Linked DNA regions of Homo sapiens: region 1 is linked to region 2. Evidence: promoter capture Hi-C in 16 types of primary human blood cells and fetal thymus (Javierre and others, 2016). All regions are on one chromosome and are shown on one strand. Each heading gives the region's core, a stretch centred on a gene start or on the middle of the fragment in contact. The rest is flanking DNA. Distances are from core to core; before and after follow the strand shown.

Region 1 (3,542 bases), core at 764-3,263, 38 kb before region 2:
GGACGTCTCCAGAGCACTTAATAAGCTGTAGAGGTACTATTTAGATGACCAGACATTATTATTATTTTTAATGTAGTTTTTATTTTTATAGATTTACGGGGTACAAATACATATATTGCATAGTGGTGGAGTGGGCTTCTAGTGCCCCATTACCCGGATAGTGAATGTTGCACCCAATAGGTAATTTTTCAACCCTCACCCCTCTCCGCCTCCCATCGTTTGTAGCCTCCAATGTCTATTATTCCAATCTATACCACACATTACTTTTTAATTTTAGTAGGAGTTGGTTGAAAACCCTATTCTGGGGCTCAGTGAGTCCGGCTAATTGGGTAAATGGAAGTTTCATGGAATTTCCTGTTCCCTAAGGCCCGTGTCTGTGTATCTTGTGAAGTGTGAGTCTTGGCCTGGATCTCTTGTGTCTGGGACGCCAGTAGACATTGGGAGGTCTTTGGCAGGGCCCTGAAAAGTGTCTGGTGCGCCCGTTTGGCCAGCGCGTGCGACCTCCAGGGCGCGGGTGTACCGAGTGCTGCCGGCAGATGGCGGTAGAGACTGGCACAAATCAATCAGCCTCGAGGGCGGGCTGCGGGGCGTGGGGGAGCGGTGCGGAATGCGTCCTGGTCGTGAGTCGCCAGGGGCGCATTTTACGGCAGAATCCGCACCTGGAGATGACCATGTTGGCCCTTAGTGTGGCGAAAGAGAGAGAGAGGCCTTTGTTCTGCGCGCATTGCGAGTGCCCAGTCCCTGCCTACGCGAGCTGGCTTTGAGCCCCCTCTCCCAGCGTTCAGCTCCTGTCCCCATTTCTACTCCCTCCAGCCTTCTTTCTTCGCGCCAGCCAAGCTTATCTCCCGCCCGGTCTTTGCAGGGCCGGTGGGTCATCAGCTTTGCATGTTGTCCTCAAGGTCTTCACGTGGCCGGCTTATCGTGCAGTCACAGCTCTTTTCCCTTCTTAGAGAGGTCCTGCCTGACCACCATTTCTAACCAGGTTCTTCCTCCCCATCACTTTCCATCTATCACTCTGTTTTATTTTCTTTGTAGCTGTGATCACTACCTGATTTTACACATTCATTTTGTTAATGTTTATTACACATTCTGCTAGGTGAAATGAGTCAAACACAGAAAGACAAATACTTCATGTTCTCACTTACACATGGAATCTAAAACAATTGAGCTGTAGTCAAAAACCACCAGGGATCATGACAGACGGGAGGCAGGACTAGATTGCAGCTCCCACTCGGACGGTCAGAGCAGCGTGTGGAGGCTCGCATCATTAAGTTTTGCTTCAGAAGGACTGCAGGAACGCATTAGGGAAGCCAGGAGAACCCACAGACCCTCTGAAGGAAACGGATTGCTCCTTGAGGAGGGCTGCCAGAGGCCCAGAGCGGCCACAGGGAGAAGGAAACCTCCAGCTGAACTTTGTAACAATTTGAACTGATCAAGAAGCCTCCTGGCCAGAACTCAGAAAAGAACCTATTTGTCCTAATGCTCTCCCTTCCCTTTCCCCCACACCCGAACTTTATGCATTTTAACATGTTTATTAGATTCACCGAATCGCTTAGCCTTTTGGAACTCCCTCGAGTTACATTTTTAAAGTCACTTTCCCCTTTCTCAAGCCCCTAGCAGGCTGAGCTCTTATCTGCGGCTTCTGGGGAAGAATCAGCTTCCAAGCTCATTCAGGTTGTTGATAGAATTCAGTTCCTTGCACGTGTAGAATTGAAGACCCCACTTCCTTGCTGGCTGCCACCTGGGGGCTGCTTTCAGCTTCTAGGGGCCATCCATGTTCTTCCTCATGGGCCCCTGCATCTTCAAGCCACTATACCATTTTCATTTATTTATTTATTTATTTAAGATGGAGTCTTGCTCTCTTGCCCAGGCTGAAGTGCAGTGGCATGATCTCAGCTCATTGCAACCTCTGCCTCTCAGGTTCAAGCAATTTCCGGCTATTTTTTTGGTATTTTTAGTAGAGGTAGAGTTTCACCATGTTGGCCAGGCTAGTCTCGAACTCCTGACCTCAAGTGATGCACCCACCTTGGCCTCCCAAAGTGCTACCATTACAGGCATGAGCCACCGTACCCGGCATCATTATACCATTTTCAATATTCAATTGAAATATTCAATTTCATAATAGCATTTTAGCTTTAGTGGTTAAAATCTGCCTGGAAGTAGATTAACAGTACAACCTCTTAAGATATTTTCCCTTTTCCTACTCCTTTTCCTCCTTCTCTCCTTTCCAAGGCCAATAACACAGTGTACAATCATCCTTCAAATAAGATTTAAAATTATTTTTCTTCTTCTTCTTTGCAGGGAAAAAAAACTAGCAAAGAAACATGAATAAACTAAGCATATACCTATTAAAAAGTTATTGAGGCCAGGCGCGGTGGCTCACACCTGTAATCCCAGTACTTTGGGAGGCCAAGGCGGCAGATAATGAGGTCAGGAGTTCGAGACCAGCCTTGCCAACATGGTGAAACCCCATCTCTACTAAAAATACAAACAATAGCTGGGCATGGTGGCCGGTGCCTGTAATCCCAGCTACTCAAGAGGCTGAGGCAGGAGAATCATTTGAATCTGGGAGTCGAAAGTTGCAGTGAACCGAGATCGTGCCATTGCACTCCAGCCTGGGTGACAAGGCAAGACTCCGTCTCAAAAAAAAAAAAAAAAAAAAAAACCAAAAAAGTTATTGAGATTGAGCATATTTAAAGCTGGATTTTCATCTTTTCAAGCATTACATGCTGGTCACAATAACTGTTTCAGTCAGCTTTAAGGCTGCTCCTTGCAGCAAAATGAAAAGACAAGAGGAAAAGAAAAGGAAAGAATTCGTTAAGTCTTTTCATAGGAGAATTGCTTACCTAAATTAACATAGAAGTTTAAGTTATAGCTCTTGAGAATTTATATTTTAATATTTTATATTAATATTTTGTAAGAGCCACTTTTGTATAAAAGTTCTCTATTATCTTCATATACTGAATAAGTTTGTCCTACCAAATGATATTTTTGTGATTGCATCTTTTACTTTCTGATTTCTAAAATTAACATACAGTAAAAAAGATGACATTTGGGTGTACGGTTGCACGAGTTTTCACCACCAGCATGATCAGGGTGCAGTTCTATCACCTCCCCAAATTCCCTTGGTCTCCTGGACCACCACAGAGAGGAATTCTTTTATATTCTGCCTAGGAAATCAAAGCTTGGCTGACAGGCCAGTTGAAGCTGAGGGTAGAGGGAGCAGCCATCTTGCAGTCCAACAGGTATTCTTTCAGTCCTTGCATGTTAACATTAAAAGGCTTTCATTATATATTAAAAGCCTATTTATTTTATTTTATAAAATAAATAAATAATTAAAACCATAAGGAAAAACAGTTTCATTGATACATGAAATTTAGGTCAATTGCTTCCTCGAGACACAATCCCCAAATCGTTGGTAGTGCTGTCAGTGGTAAACTATTAAAGGATGCAACACGACCCCTGGGAAAGACAGGATGCTGTACCTCATTTCTACCCCTTCATCCACACTGAAGGGAGGGAGACAGAACTGAGAAGACTCC
Region 2 (3,639 bases), core at 495-2,994:
GAATTTTAGACCTTCAACTTAGCATCTTAGGTACTTGTCAGACATCACTATCCCATCTCCATAATCTTGGGAAATACCAATGAGAGCCAAGTCCATCATAAAACTAATTTAAGAAAGAAGTTCAAAAGAGAATCAATAGAATTTTCAGGAGTCTTATCTTTTCACCAAACTCAGTAGCCCATGACTTCTCTCTTCTCAACAATCACTAGATCTGTGATTCCTGAAGCATGGTGTTCTATCTCTTCTAGCCTCTTTGGACACTCTATCTCTCAGAAGTCTCATTCATTATCCTAGCCTTAACCTCATATCCACCAAGGTAACTTCTGTATTGTTATCTATAATTCTAAATTTCCTGCTCGGCTTAGTACCTTATCTTTATCTGCTGAATGACTTTTCCATCCTAATGTCTCGTGTTTCTTTTTTCTGAATCAAGAAAGCTTTTCTCCCTTGTTCATCTTAATAACCCAATGATTTTCCCTAAATTACAAGAGATTTATGTAGCATCTGCTAATTTTCAAAGCATATTTGCATACATTTCCACATTGTTTTCTCATCAAACGGGAAACAGAAAAATTCTTATATTGGAATCAGCTGCATTGATTAACCCCATTATACTCATGTGAAATTGAAGTTCAAAGTGGTTAAGTGACTTTACCCAAGATGACACAGCCATACTTGCTTATGGTACTACCCTTTTCCTAGGGTCCCAAGATAAAAACATTAGAAGATAAAAACATTAGAAGCATCTTTGACACTTCCACTTTCCCTGCCCCGAAACCCTTTGCTAATTTTTTCAAATAGCTGGATGATTCTTGTATTCTGAAACAAATCTCAGTGCTTCTCCTTTCTTTTCCAAAAACAATGGTTAATCCCCTGGCTTAGCCTTTTGCTATAATGCATTCCTAGATGCCCTTATGGTAGTTTGGGGGTTTTCAGGAAGACAAAGTCTGAGAGAAGCGATAAAGGCTCTGGAAAACCTGAAAGAATTCAAGATGGAGAACACAGGCCTGTTTACTTGATCTTGAAAGGGTTTTTTTTTGAGCATGAGGGAAGAACTTCCTCCTTTCTACACCAAGCACAAACTGATAGGAAACTTTGCTTCAAGAGGTGGTTTCACAGGAAGGGGAACAACACACACTGGGGCCTGTTGGGTGGAGGGAGAGCATCAGGAAAAATAGCTAATGCATCCTGGGCTTAATACCTGGGCGATGGGTTGGTAGGTGCAGCAAATAACCATGACACACATTTACCTATGTAACAAACCGCACATCCTGCACAAGTACCCCAGGACTTTTTTTAAAAAAAAAGGGCTTTTAAGATAGAAATAGAGCTAAAAGGAGGTAGACCTGGGCTTAGTCTTAGCATGATAGACATATACAGGGCAGGAAGGCAGCATTATATTTTGGATAGTTTCTGAATAGACAAAAAATACCCTGCTTTCTCTGTAGCTTCCTGGGTGTTTCCACTGGACACAATCTGGCAGTTGGGGCCTATGAGAATGTATCAGTGCATGACTGATACAATAGGTAAGCTCTTTAGCCATCTTTTTGAACAGCTAATCTTTCAGTCTCCTCTCTTTGGGTTTCCATTGTCATGGGCAGCCAAATCCTTGGTTCCTCTCATCTACCCATCTTAAACTTGGGAATCCACATTACCTGTGTTCACCTGGTACTGTAGCATGAGGCTGGCAAAGATAGGAAAAAGGAGCTTCATGGTTGGGTGCCAGAGAGGAAGCCTTGAATCTGGGTTGATGCTCCTGAGCTCCAGCCTTTATTGGCCTCTTCGTGGCCTTATGCCATGAGCAGTGAAGTGCAGCCAAAGCAGGTTTGTATGCTGCTCGCAGTATAGTTGTGTTTTTTCTGACTCTGTTTGAAAACACCCTTTCTTGAACACCTCTATGCAACAAATTCCTTGCTCTTGATCCTGGAGGAAAACATAAGATAGGTAAGATGAGAAAGAAAGAGCAAGCCCTTTGCATGTGTCTCTCTTTTGCTTTTTTGAGATGGAGTCTCACTCTGTTGCCCAGGCTGGAGTGCAGTGGCGTGATCTCGACTCACTGCAACCTCCGCCTCCCAGGTTCAGGCAATCCTCCTGCCTCAGCCTCCCAAGTAGAGTATCTGGGACTACAGGCATGCACCACCATGCCCAGCTAACTTTTGTATTTTCAGTAGAGACGGGGTTTCACCATGTTGGCCAGGCTGGTCTCAAACTCCTGACCTCAAGTGATCCGCCCACCTTGGCCTCCCAAAGTGCTGGGGTTCCAGGCATGAGCCACCGCACCCAGTCGCATGTCTCTTTCTTAACGTTGGAGTAGGATAAGAGTTAGATATTTGATTCACTGATTGTCAGCCCAGTTATGCTAAGGTTGGCACTTAGTGCATGAGAATTAGAAGAGCTAGAGGAGAGTGAAGATTCTGCCTTGTTTGTACTGGTATGTCCAGTGGCCAGCATGGGTATTGGATCAACATACAAAGTCAGTACGTTTGTTAAACAAGTTCGTGGGAGACAGCTCTTGGCACATCTTTAACTTTTGAGTTTACAATGATTCCCACATCCTTTTAAAGTAGCAACTAAAAAAAAACTTTTTTAACTTCGCGGGTATATGTGCAGGATGTGCTGGTTTGTTACATAGGTAATGTGTGTCATGGGGGTTGGTTGTATAGATTATTTCATCACCCAGCTATTAAGCCTAGTGTCCATTAGTTATTTTTCCTCATCCTCTCCCTCCTCCCACCTTCCACTCTCCAGTAAGCTCCAGTGTGTGTTGTTCCCCTCTGTGTGTCCATGTGTTCTCATCATTTTGCTCCCACCTATAAGTGAGAACATGCAGTATTTGGTTTTCTGTTTCTGCCTTCATTTGCTAAGGATAATGGCCTCCAGCTCCATCCATGTCCCTGCAAAGGACACGATCTCATTCTTTTTTATGGCTGCATAGTATTCCGTGGTATATATGTACCACATTTTCTTTATCCATTCTTTATCCAAATGGCCAAATGATGGGCATTTGGGTTGATTCTATGTCTTTGTTATTGTGAATAGCGCTGCAGTGAACATATGCATGCATGTGTCTTTATAATAGAACCATTTATATTCCTTTGGGCATATACCCAGTAATAGGATTGCTAGGTCAAATGGTATTTCTGACTTTAGGTTTTTGAGGGATTGCCACACTATCTTCCACAATGGTTGAAATAATTAAAAGCAGCAATTTTTATAGTGTACTGCTCAGATTCCTTGGTCGTAGCTGATTGATCCAGGTGTAACAATAGAACCAAGCCTACCAATCAGATGCTTTCCCCTGCTAATTTGGGACATTTCCTAAGAAACTCAGATATTGAAGCTCATTGGCTCTGAATATTATTAATTGTTCAAGTTTCAAGAGTTTCCCTGGTTCCTCGCCTTCCTGAAATTCATGTCTTCTTAGGATTTCATTAGCTACTATAGTATCCAATGACTCCTCAGTTTTGTTTAAATTAACTGTTATTTTTTAAAACAATAAAAGCAAATCTTATGAACTTTCACTTTATGAAATGTATATTTTACTTCTATGAACAAAAATAATCAAGCTTAGGCATATTTACTTACTACTTGTCAATATCAAGAGATGGAATTAACAGCCCTTTGGAATCAGTTAATCCT

The links. Contacts are between HindIII fragments. The CHiCAGO score rates a contact against its expected background, and 5 or more counts as called.
Region 1: a fragment that was not itself captured here is called in contact with the fragment with the promoter of DEFB129 in region 2 in 1 of 17 cell types (M2 macrophages); the score reaches 5.1 in M2 macrophages.

What each region holds. Positions count from the first base shown.
Region 1 is chr20:264,145-267,686 of GRCh38, reverse strand. No RefSeq gene overlaps it. Among named protein-coding and RNA genes, the nearest start is that of DEFB132, 8.2 kb to the right of the region's middle. The HindIII fragment of the contact is 2,347 bases long and covers 840-3,186 here.
Region 2 is chr20:225,363-229,001 of GRCh38, reverse strand. It overlaps DEFB129 (defensin beta 129), which reads right to left and starts at 1,744. Exons shown (of 2, transcript NM_080831.4): 1 at 1,656-1,744. The coding sequence starts at 1,713. The HindIII fragment of the contact is 3,129 bases long and covers 440-3,568 here.